2 separate regions of the Homo sapiens genome follow, and region 1 is linked to region 2. The links are contacts of gene promoters, found by promoter capture Hi-C in blood cells and fetal thymus (Javierre and others, 2016). All regions are on one chromosome and are shown on one strand. Each heading gives the region's core, a stretch centred on a gene start or on the middle of the fragment in contact. The rest is flanking DNA. Distances are from core to core; before and after follow the strand shown. Region 1 overlaps SLC9A9 (solute carrier family 9 member A9). Region 2 holds the start of CHST2 (carbohydrate sulfotransferase 2).

Evidence for each region. The method cuts DNA at HindIII sites, captures the fragments that hold promoters and counts their contacts. A CHiCAGO score of 5 or more calls a contact.
Region 1: a fragment that was not itself captured here is called in contact with the fragment with the promoter of CHST2 in region 2 in 1 of 17 cell types (fetal thymus); the score reaches 5.2 in fetal thymus.

What each region holds. Positions count from the first base shown.
Region 1 is chr3:143,429,371-143,433,286 of GRCh38, reverse strand. The region is part of intron 12 of SLC9A9 (solute carrier family 9 member A9); the gene reads left to right. Among named protein-coding and RNA genes, the nearest start is that of SLC9A9-AS1, 89 kb to the right of the region's middle. RefSeq lists an enhancer at 2,866-3,386. The HindIII fragment of the contact is 3,033 bases long and covers 23-3,055 here.
Region 2 is chr3:143,116,661-143,121,020 of GRCh38, reverse strand. It overlaps CHST2 (carbohydrate sulfotransferase 2), which reads right to left and starts at 1,250. Exons shown (of 2, transcript NM_004267.5): 1 at 480-1,250; 2 at 1-377. The coding sequence starts at 204. RefSeq lists silencers at 1-67, 128-327, 388-467, 518-567, 598-647 and 1 more and enhancers at 1-534, 858-907, 1,193-1,692, 1,888-2,017, 1,693-2,194. The HindIII fragment of the contact is 4,891 bases long and covers 1-3,972 here.

The DNA of each region.
Region 1 (3,916 bases), core at 290-2,789, 310 kb before region 2:
CAACCATCTCTTTTAAAAAGCTTCAAAGTCGATAGGATTTCTTATTGCCCTGAAACACGTCAGGAAACTAAAGAAAACTTTGTTACATGAACTGTCCACCCTTCCATGAAATCAAGAGCAAACTTATCAAGATTGATTTCTGTCATCAAGTGCAGTTAGATTTGCATAAAAGGGTTGGCCAAAAAGATATATCTAAATAACCTTTCATTGTTAAGGCTAACCTCCCTTTCACTGTTAAGTTCAAAGGAAGGAAAGTTCTTTGAAACACCACCAGGGCTGATTGGTGCTGCTGGTCTAATCAGAGCATGTTTTGAGTCCAAAGGTAAGAAATGCCTTCAGTTGGAATAAAATGCAGGCAAGAGGCCAGGCGCAGTAGCTTATGCCTGTAATCCCAGCACTTTGGAAGGCCAAGGTGGGGGGATCATGAGGTCAGGAGATCAAGACCATCCTAGCTAACATGGTGAAACCCTATCTCTACTAAAAATACAAAAATTAGCCGGGTGTGGGGGTATATACCTGTAGTCCGAGCTACTTGGGAGTCTGAGGCAGGAGAATCGCTTGAACCTGGGAGGCGGAGGTTGCAGTGAGCCAAGATCACGCCACTGCACTCCAGCCTGGCAACAGAATGAGACTCCGTCTCAAAAAAATAATGTGGGCAAGATCAGCCAGGTGGCCACCATTCTAGGGGGAAGAGAGCCCTTCAAATACTGATTCCAGGGCAGCCTGCTTGTTTTAACAACCTTTTCTCGGTAAAGCTCTCCAAACCCTGGAACTGTTCCAGTTTTCCTTTTCTGCATGAAGTAGGAATGTGATTGTAATGAGATAGTTTTTCAGAAATCAGTGTTGCAGTTCTCATTTTTCCTGTATTTGATAATACTTGCCCTGTGCCTATTAATGAGCCTAGTCTAGTTGAGGTAACTGGAATGGGCAAAGAGTTTACTGCACTGAGAACCTTTCCAGGGCCTGTTCCCACTACATACATCATCAGGAGCTGAGAGAGTTTAGAACATAGTAATTACCCGGTGTGTAGTCATCTTATACAAATCAATTTATTCACACACTTAACAAATACATGTGTGCCAAGCACTGTTCTGAGCATTTGAAATAAACAAAAATGCCTGTGCTCAGGGTGTTTTCATTTTGGCAAGAGAAAATAAGCCGTGAGAAATTAGCTTAACAAATGGGCAAATTATATAGTATATCAGGTGATAAGTGGTACAGAAAAAAAAATTGAGCAGAGGAAGAGAGAATGGAGGCTGGGTTATAGGGATGGGATTGGGCTGTGATTTGAATTAGGTAGTCCAAGTAGGCCTCACTGAGAAGTTATCTCTTGAGTAAAGACTGGGAGGAGGAAGAGCATTTTAGCAGTGGCAATAGCTTATGCAAAGACTGTAAGGTGAGATGTACCTGGCAAATTGGAGGAACATCAAGTGGGCCAGTGAGGCTGAAGGGTGAGCATGTAGGAGAGTAGGAGGGGCTGAGTTTAGAGAAGTAAGAGGGGTGGGAAGATCATACAGGGCCTTATAAGCCATTGTAAGGACTCGGCCTTTCACTTTAAGAATTGGGTCACGAGGTCGGGAGATCAAGACCATCCTGGCTAACACGGTAAAACCCCATATCTATTAAAAATACAAAAAATTAGCCGGGCATGGTGGCGGGTGCCTGTAGTCCAGCCACTCAGGAGGCTGAGGCAGGAGAATGGCCTGAACCTGGGAGGCGGAGCTTGCAGGGAGCCAAGATTGCACCACTGTACTCCAGCCTGGGTGACAGAGCGAGACTCCATCGCAAAAAAAAAAAAAAAGGTGGGGGCAGCTACTGGAGGATTTCGCAACAAGGGATGTGATCTAACTGGCAATTTGAAAGAACTCCTCTGCTGTCTTGAGAATACACTGTATTCTACAGGGAGGCAAAGGTAGGGGCTGAGAGTTGAATTAAGAGATGACTGCAGGAATCTGGGAAAATCAACAAATAATTCATGGTTCTATGTGCTATAGTGGCATAAACGAAGCTGGAGCTCAAAGCACTGTGTGCAACTAGTTCTTCCAGGGAAGGCTTCCCAGGGCTGTGACTTGTGAATTGAAGGAAAGGGACTTAGAGAAGGAAGGCAGATGGCAGGAGGTGAGATGAGAAAGATTTAGGGGCACCAGACTGTGAAAGGCCTTGAGTACCACCAGGACTGATGCCTTTTATAAAGCCAAGAAAATGCCCAACTATGTGGCCTAAACAAATAGGTTCTTATTTTTCTCATGTATTAGGAAACCTAGAGGAAGCAGTCCAAAACTAGTGGATAAAATCAGTGATGAGGCTCTTTTTGTCATCCTTGTTGTAATGGCTTGTGCTGGTTCTAAAGAGTGCTGCTGTGTATCCATGTTGTGGGAAGGAAAAAGGAAGAGAGCAGCATGTCAGGTGAATCTAGCTCTCCCTTTTTTAAATTGGGAAAGCAAATCTCCTAGAAACCCTACCCAACAGACTTCAGCTTGAGTCTGCCTAGCCCAACTGGGTCACGTGACCATGCCCACCTGGAAGGTGGCTCAGCTGAAAGGGTGGTGGATATGGTGTATGTCAGCTAACCAACAGTGCCAACACAAATTCTTAAATCTATCCAATGTGAGTGAAGATGATGCTTCCCCCAGAGGGCCACATGCAGCTTCATTGGCCTCCCCCTCTCAGATCTGGGCTCAGCAAAAGAACAGCTGCTGAAGCACCCACTCTCCACTATGGCTATCACTGCCCTGCCCCTTCCACAGGGCCCCAGGTAGACTAGCTAGGGCCTCCAAGTCCCGCCTTTCCTGCATGCCTGTGAACATCACTGATTCAACAGTAGGGACCAGGCCCTATGCCAGCAATGGAATCTGCCTCTCCATAAGAGAAAGGTGTGTGTGAGTGTATGTAACCCTCAGAATTTCCTTGGGACTCTGGCAGTCACTTCTGTTTTGTCAAAAGAGGTTTCTATCCTCCCCTTCCAAGTGATAAAGCATTAAGACACACAGGCTGGGGGATGGGGTCAGAACTTGTGGCTGTGCATTAATGAGCCCCACTGGGAGTCAGCAAAGCTTGACTTTGGTGGTCACAACCTGTTTTCCTTGATCCCAGGTGCCTATCTCTCTTCACCCTCTTTCCAAATCTGTTCTCCAAAAGGTTCTGATGAAGTCATTAACTTTGAAGTGTAAACAACTGATAAGACTGAAAATGCCCTCTCCCCTAGATGCATTCTTATTCTAATAGCTGTCAAGCCGCTGTGGCTTGAACCTAAACTTGGAATGGGCAGGGCACCAGAGTGGCTGGTTTCAGTTTCTAGCTCTGCCATTCATGATCCAGTGAATCAGTACATCTTTTGGGCTTCAGTTTCTTCATCTGTAAAGTAACAAATTTGAAAGATATGACCTCTAAGGCCCTCCTTGCTCTCCTGGTCTATATGGCCAAGTGAGAGAACACAACTTGACTGTGTACTGACTTCTGGTATTACTAGCGCTTAGCTGCTGTCATGCGTGGCATTGATGCAGAAGCCTCATCCTACACACGCTCTGAGGACTAGGACTCCACACACACTCAGCCTCCCCCTCTGGAGGGGTGATCTCCATCTGGGTGTGCACTCCCCTCCTCTCAGACCTCTGCAAGCAGGTATCTGATGTGCAGAGTGATGGAGAGAAGCTGCCTCTTGGTATCATCCACTAGACTGTGGGCTTGCTGAGAGCAGAGACATGTCTGGTTCACTAAGTGTATGTAAAAATGAACTGCCTGAACTGTGGTTAGAAAGGTAGCAGGGATGGACTTCTCTTTCCACTCTGCTCCTTACAAATAGACTCCGCCAGGCTCTGCCTTTTATCTGTTCTACCTTCTCCCCTCCTTTTCTCTTCCTATTGTCAGGCAAAAGCTGCTTTCACACAGTCCTATTATGACATCTCAAGTTGGACTC
Region 2 (4,360 bases), core at 1-2,500:
GAGCACCAGCAGCAGTGCATAGCCCGCGCACAACACCAGCGCCTTCCTACGGAACACCTTCATTCCGAGAGGGGACGCGGGCCAGCGGCGTCCTGGGCGCCGGGGCCACTGCGGGAGCAGGGCACGCGGCGCGGCTGCAGGCGCAGCCTGGAGCAGCCGAGGGAGCGCGCCCGGGGGCAGAGCTCGCTGCGGGCTGCGGCTCATCACAGGCACAATCCGGGCCGGCGGCGCGGCGGAGGCAGCCCTGCAGCCCGGGAAGGGGACGCAGCGGGCTGGCTGCTGGCGCCGGGACTCGGGCCGCGACTCCGAGGCGGGCGCGGCGGCTGGTCCCCAGCGCCCAAGGCTGGCTCTCCCATGGCAGCGGCTCCGGGTAGGACCTGCGAGGGGAAGCGGAGTGAGCGGATGCGCCCCAATCTCCCTCCCAGCCTCCTCCTCCTAAGTAACGCCCACCCTCGGTTCTGCCCGGTTCCTCCGCTCACCTGGAGCCGAGGGCGCGCCCGGGAGCGGCCCCGGATCACCGCCCGGCGGACTGTCCGGCTGTCACTCGTTCCTCGATTTCGCTCCCTCTCGCTTCCGCTGGGGGTCCCCGCACCTTCGAGGGGTCTGGGGAGTCGGCCGACTTATCCCTGGGCAGTTTCCGGGCAGCGGGCGCCCTGCGGCTCGGGAAGAAAAACTTTCACGCGGCCCAGAGCCCCGCTCCGCGCTCCGCCGAACCCGGCGCCTCCCGGCTCCAGCGACGTCTCCTCCGCTTTCTCGGGACCGCAGCTTCCTGTCTCGCTCAGGGGAACGAAGCCGGCTGGGGGCGATGGCTGGGGGCGGCTTATATGGGACTCAGCTCCCGGCATAGCGGCGCAGCCCCTCTCGCTTTCGGCCTCCGTGCGGCGAATTTTCCCACCTCTCTGGCAGCGGTGGATGGGGCACAGCGCGACCCCGCAGCGGCGGCGGCGGCTGCTTCCATCACCGGGAGGATGCCCGGGCGGACAGCGCAGGCAACCCCCGCCGCTCCGCAGCCTCCGACTGGACCAAAGGACCCCGAACACACAGCTCTAGGCAAGGAAACCCAGGTGTGCAGCACTGCCCGACCCGACCCAACCCGCCCCCGGTACCAGCGCTTCTGGCCAACGAGGTATTTAAGCAAAGAAAGACCCCGCCGCAGCCGCCGCCGCCGCGCGAAAGCGGCGCCCAGGAGGATGCTGCTACCCGACTCCCCTTACGCCGGGCGCCCGCAACGCGCTCGGACCAGCCTCTGCGCGGCTCCTGCCAGCCGGCGCCCGGTTGGTGCGCGCCGCCGTCTGTCGCCGCGGCTCCTCCCCTCCGCCGCGCAGCCCTCCCCCTTCGCCGGCCCCGCCCCCGCCCCCAACGCCGAGCCGGCTCCCACCGTCGCTGCGCCTCGGGGGCTGGAGACGCGACCCGCTTTACCGCGACGCGCGGGGGCTGCAGTCCACGGGTCCGAAGGCTTAGCTCTGCGCGCAAAGCGCCGGGATGCGAACGCGGGATCTGGAGCTCGTCGGTGCCGAGAGCTGCCAGAGAGTTGGATTCTGCGTGCAGCTGCCGGACTCGGCCCCATGTTTTTGCTCTCAGAAAGAGTTGGTGATGAAGTTTGGGCAGAAATCCCCTGTCGGCCGTCCGCTCCACGCTTCCCTCGGGGCCGACACTGCCAACCTCTCCGGGCACTGAGGACACCTCTGCGCCCTGGAGCGGTGGGAGGACGCGGAGCGCCGTTCTCTGGCTTCCGACACCCTGCCCGCCCTCTCTAGTGGGTCTGTGGCTGCGCCCTCTCGAAGGAAGTAATAAATCTTTCTGACCTTGGGGGTCAGAGGAGACGCTTCAGTTTTCCGGAGGGGTGTGCGGGCGGGACCGTCTTTCCGCTTTACTGGACCTCTGGCCGGGGCTGCTCTTGTTTCATTGTGCCCCACATGCGGAGCCCCGATGCTCTCCGCATTTCCGCTCGCGGTGCTGCGTCCACTGTGATTGACGTCCTCTGGAATTGGGGTGATGGGGGAGGGGAACGCCCCGTTCTAATTTGCAGAAAAATACTTGTCCCGCTTCTTGGTTTTGTAGATGAGATCAAAGAACTTGACCCCAAAGGAAACACCGTTGTTGAAAGAAAATCATTTTTCAGTTGCTTTAGGTTTAAGTACTTTTGTTTAAGGTTATGAGGAAAAGCGTCTCTCTCTCCCCCCAACTCCCTCCCTCCCCAAGAACACTAAGCTGTAGCCTCAACTTCATCTGTAGAATGGGGACAGTTGTAACAGCCTCCGGAGACTGAACGGTGGTTGAGTATCAGAGCGCGCACACGAAAGGTTAGACCTGAGTTCAGGCCTCCAAGTGCCGAAAAGGGAATCTCCGTGGGGCCTGAGGCTCAGCACCCTCGGATAAACAGAGCTCTCGCTGATCCGGAGTTTTGTTGCCTCCTGTCCCAGTAGAGTTTTTAGAAGTTACTGCACAATTATCTTTGTAGCGTTTCGGGCAGACTTTTCAGAGGACCGTTCTAACATTAAAATATTGCTGTTTGCGCCATTATTCTTCCATGAGTCTTACAGAATCCCCTGAGTACAAAGACTTGAAAAGTGACTTAACTCGCTTTCCACGGGTTTTTAACTCTCTTACGGATTTAGTTTCAGGGGAGAAAAATGTTCAAAAAACTTATTTATCCTTGTTTTCCAGAAAAACCCATAATGTCACGAGTACAGTTCAGCTTATTTTTTCTCCTGGGGAGGGGGATTGGGACAAGGACAGCAGAGCTCAAATTTTATATCCAGCTTTCTCAAATAATATGGCATTGCCTCTGGAAGTGGGTCGAGACAGGCAAGAATCCCTGTTAACAGATGAAGGTGGTAGAGTTTAATTGAGCGACTCCCCATCTTTTCCTTTTCTGGAATCCCCAGCCTCCCTTCGCCTACTCTCTCAAATGCCCCTGCCCCTTTTTCACCACCTCTTTTACCACGAAAACTAAAATGACATTGGTGCATGAAAAGACTGATGGGAGAGAGAGGGAATTGGGGAGGAAAGTAAATCTCAATTTTAATATTCAACATGATTCCAAGAAAAATAATTTCTAATATTTTTCATTTAGTTTCTGGCTTTGTGCTTACCCAGAAAAAAACTGAATTGCATTAGTCGATGTAGGGACCCTTTTTAAAAACAATTGTTTGCATAGAAATAATTCCGTTTGCAATTTTGTAACACTTTACTGGTGTTGGCAAAATAGTAAATCCATTTGCCAGGTGCCCCCACAGTGCTCAGCTGGCATAAATTTACGGGTTCTGGCATCTCCACCCTCTCCTTGCTTGCAAATTTTTCCCATTTTGCATGGTGTCATGATTAATTCTGAACTTTGTTATAGCTAATGACATCTGAAAACTTCATAATGCCTTCCTTCCCGCATTTGTTTGGAAATTCCTTTCATTTTAATCTACTTATTTTAGCATAGTAATGACCCAGACATATAATATGTCACATAATAATGTCACTTGCACAAGAGCCAGTCATGCCACAGGGCTAGCCTTAATTTCGGCTCACTGGTTTAGTTTGTCACAATTCCATCTCCCCCAGGATGCTCTTTCAGTCTCTGTCTTCTCTGCTGCCTGTTATGTTCTATTGGAAACTGTCAGGCCTCTGAGCCAAAGCTAAGCCATCATATCCCCTGTGACCTGCATGTACACATCCAGATGGCTGGTCCTTGCCTTAACTGATGACATTCCACTACAAAAGAAGTGAAAATGGCAGGTCCTGCCTTAACTGATGACATTACCTTGTGAAATTCCTTCTCCTGGCTCATCCTGGCTCAAAAAGCTCCCCCACTGAGCACCTTGTGATCCCCCCCTCCACACCTGCCCACCAGAGAACAACCCCCTTTGACTGTAATTTTCCTTTACCTGCCCAAATCCTATAAAACGGCCCCACGCCTATCTCCCTTCACTGACTCTCTTTTCGGACTCAGCCCGCCTGCACCCAGGTGATTAAAAAGCTTTATTGCTCACACAAAGCCTGTTTGGTGGTCTCTTCACACTGATGCGAGTGAAAGAAACTTGCTGTGGCTTTTGCTTAATCCTGGACAAATGTCCAGAGATCTTCAAGGACTTTCTTCCAGAGTCTGAACTGGGGAAAGATGCAAGGCTGGGTTACCTGAACAGTTCCCATTTGGGCCTATCTGTGTGAATCCTAGAAGATTCACCTTTGGAAAATGTTTGCCCCTGGGCACCAAGATAGATTCACTCCCTCATATTTTGAACAAATATGCATTTTCAATAGAACTTGAGATTATAGATTCAGGTTACTCATAATCCTTGATTTAAGATATGCTGCCATTGTTAGTCCAAGTGGCCCTTTTAAATGTCCTATGTTTTAATATAATGAA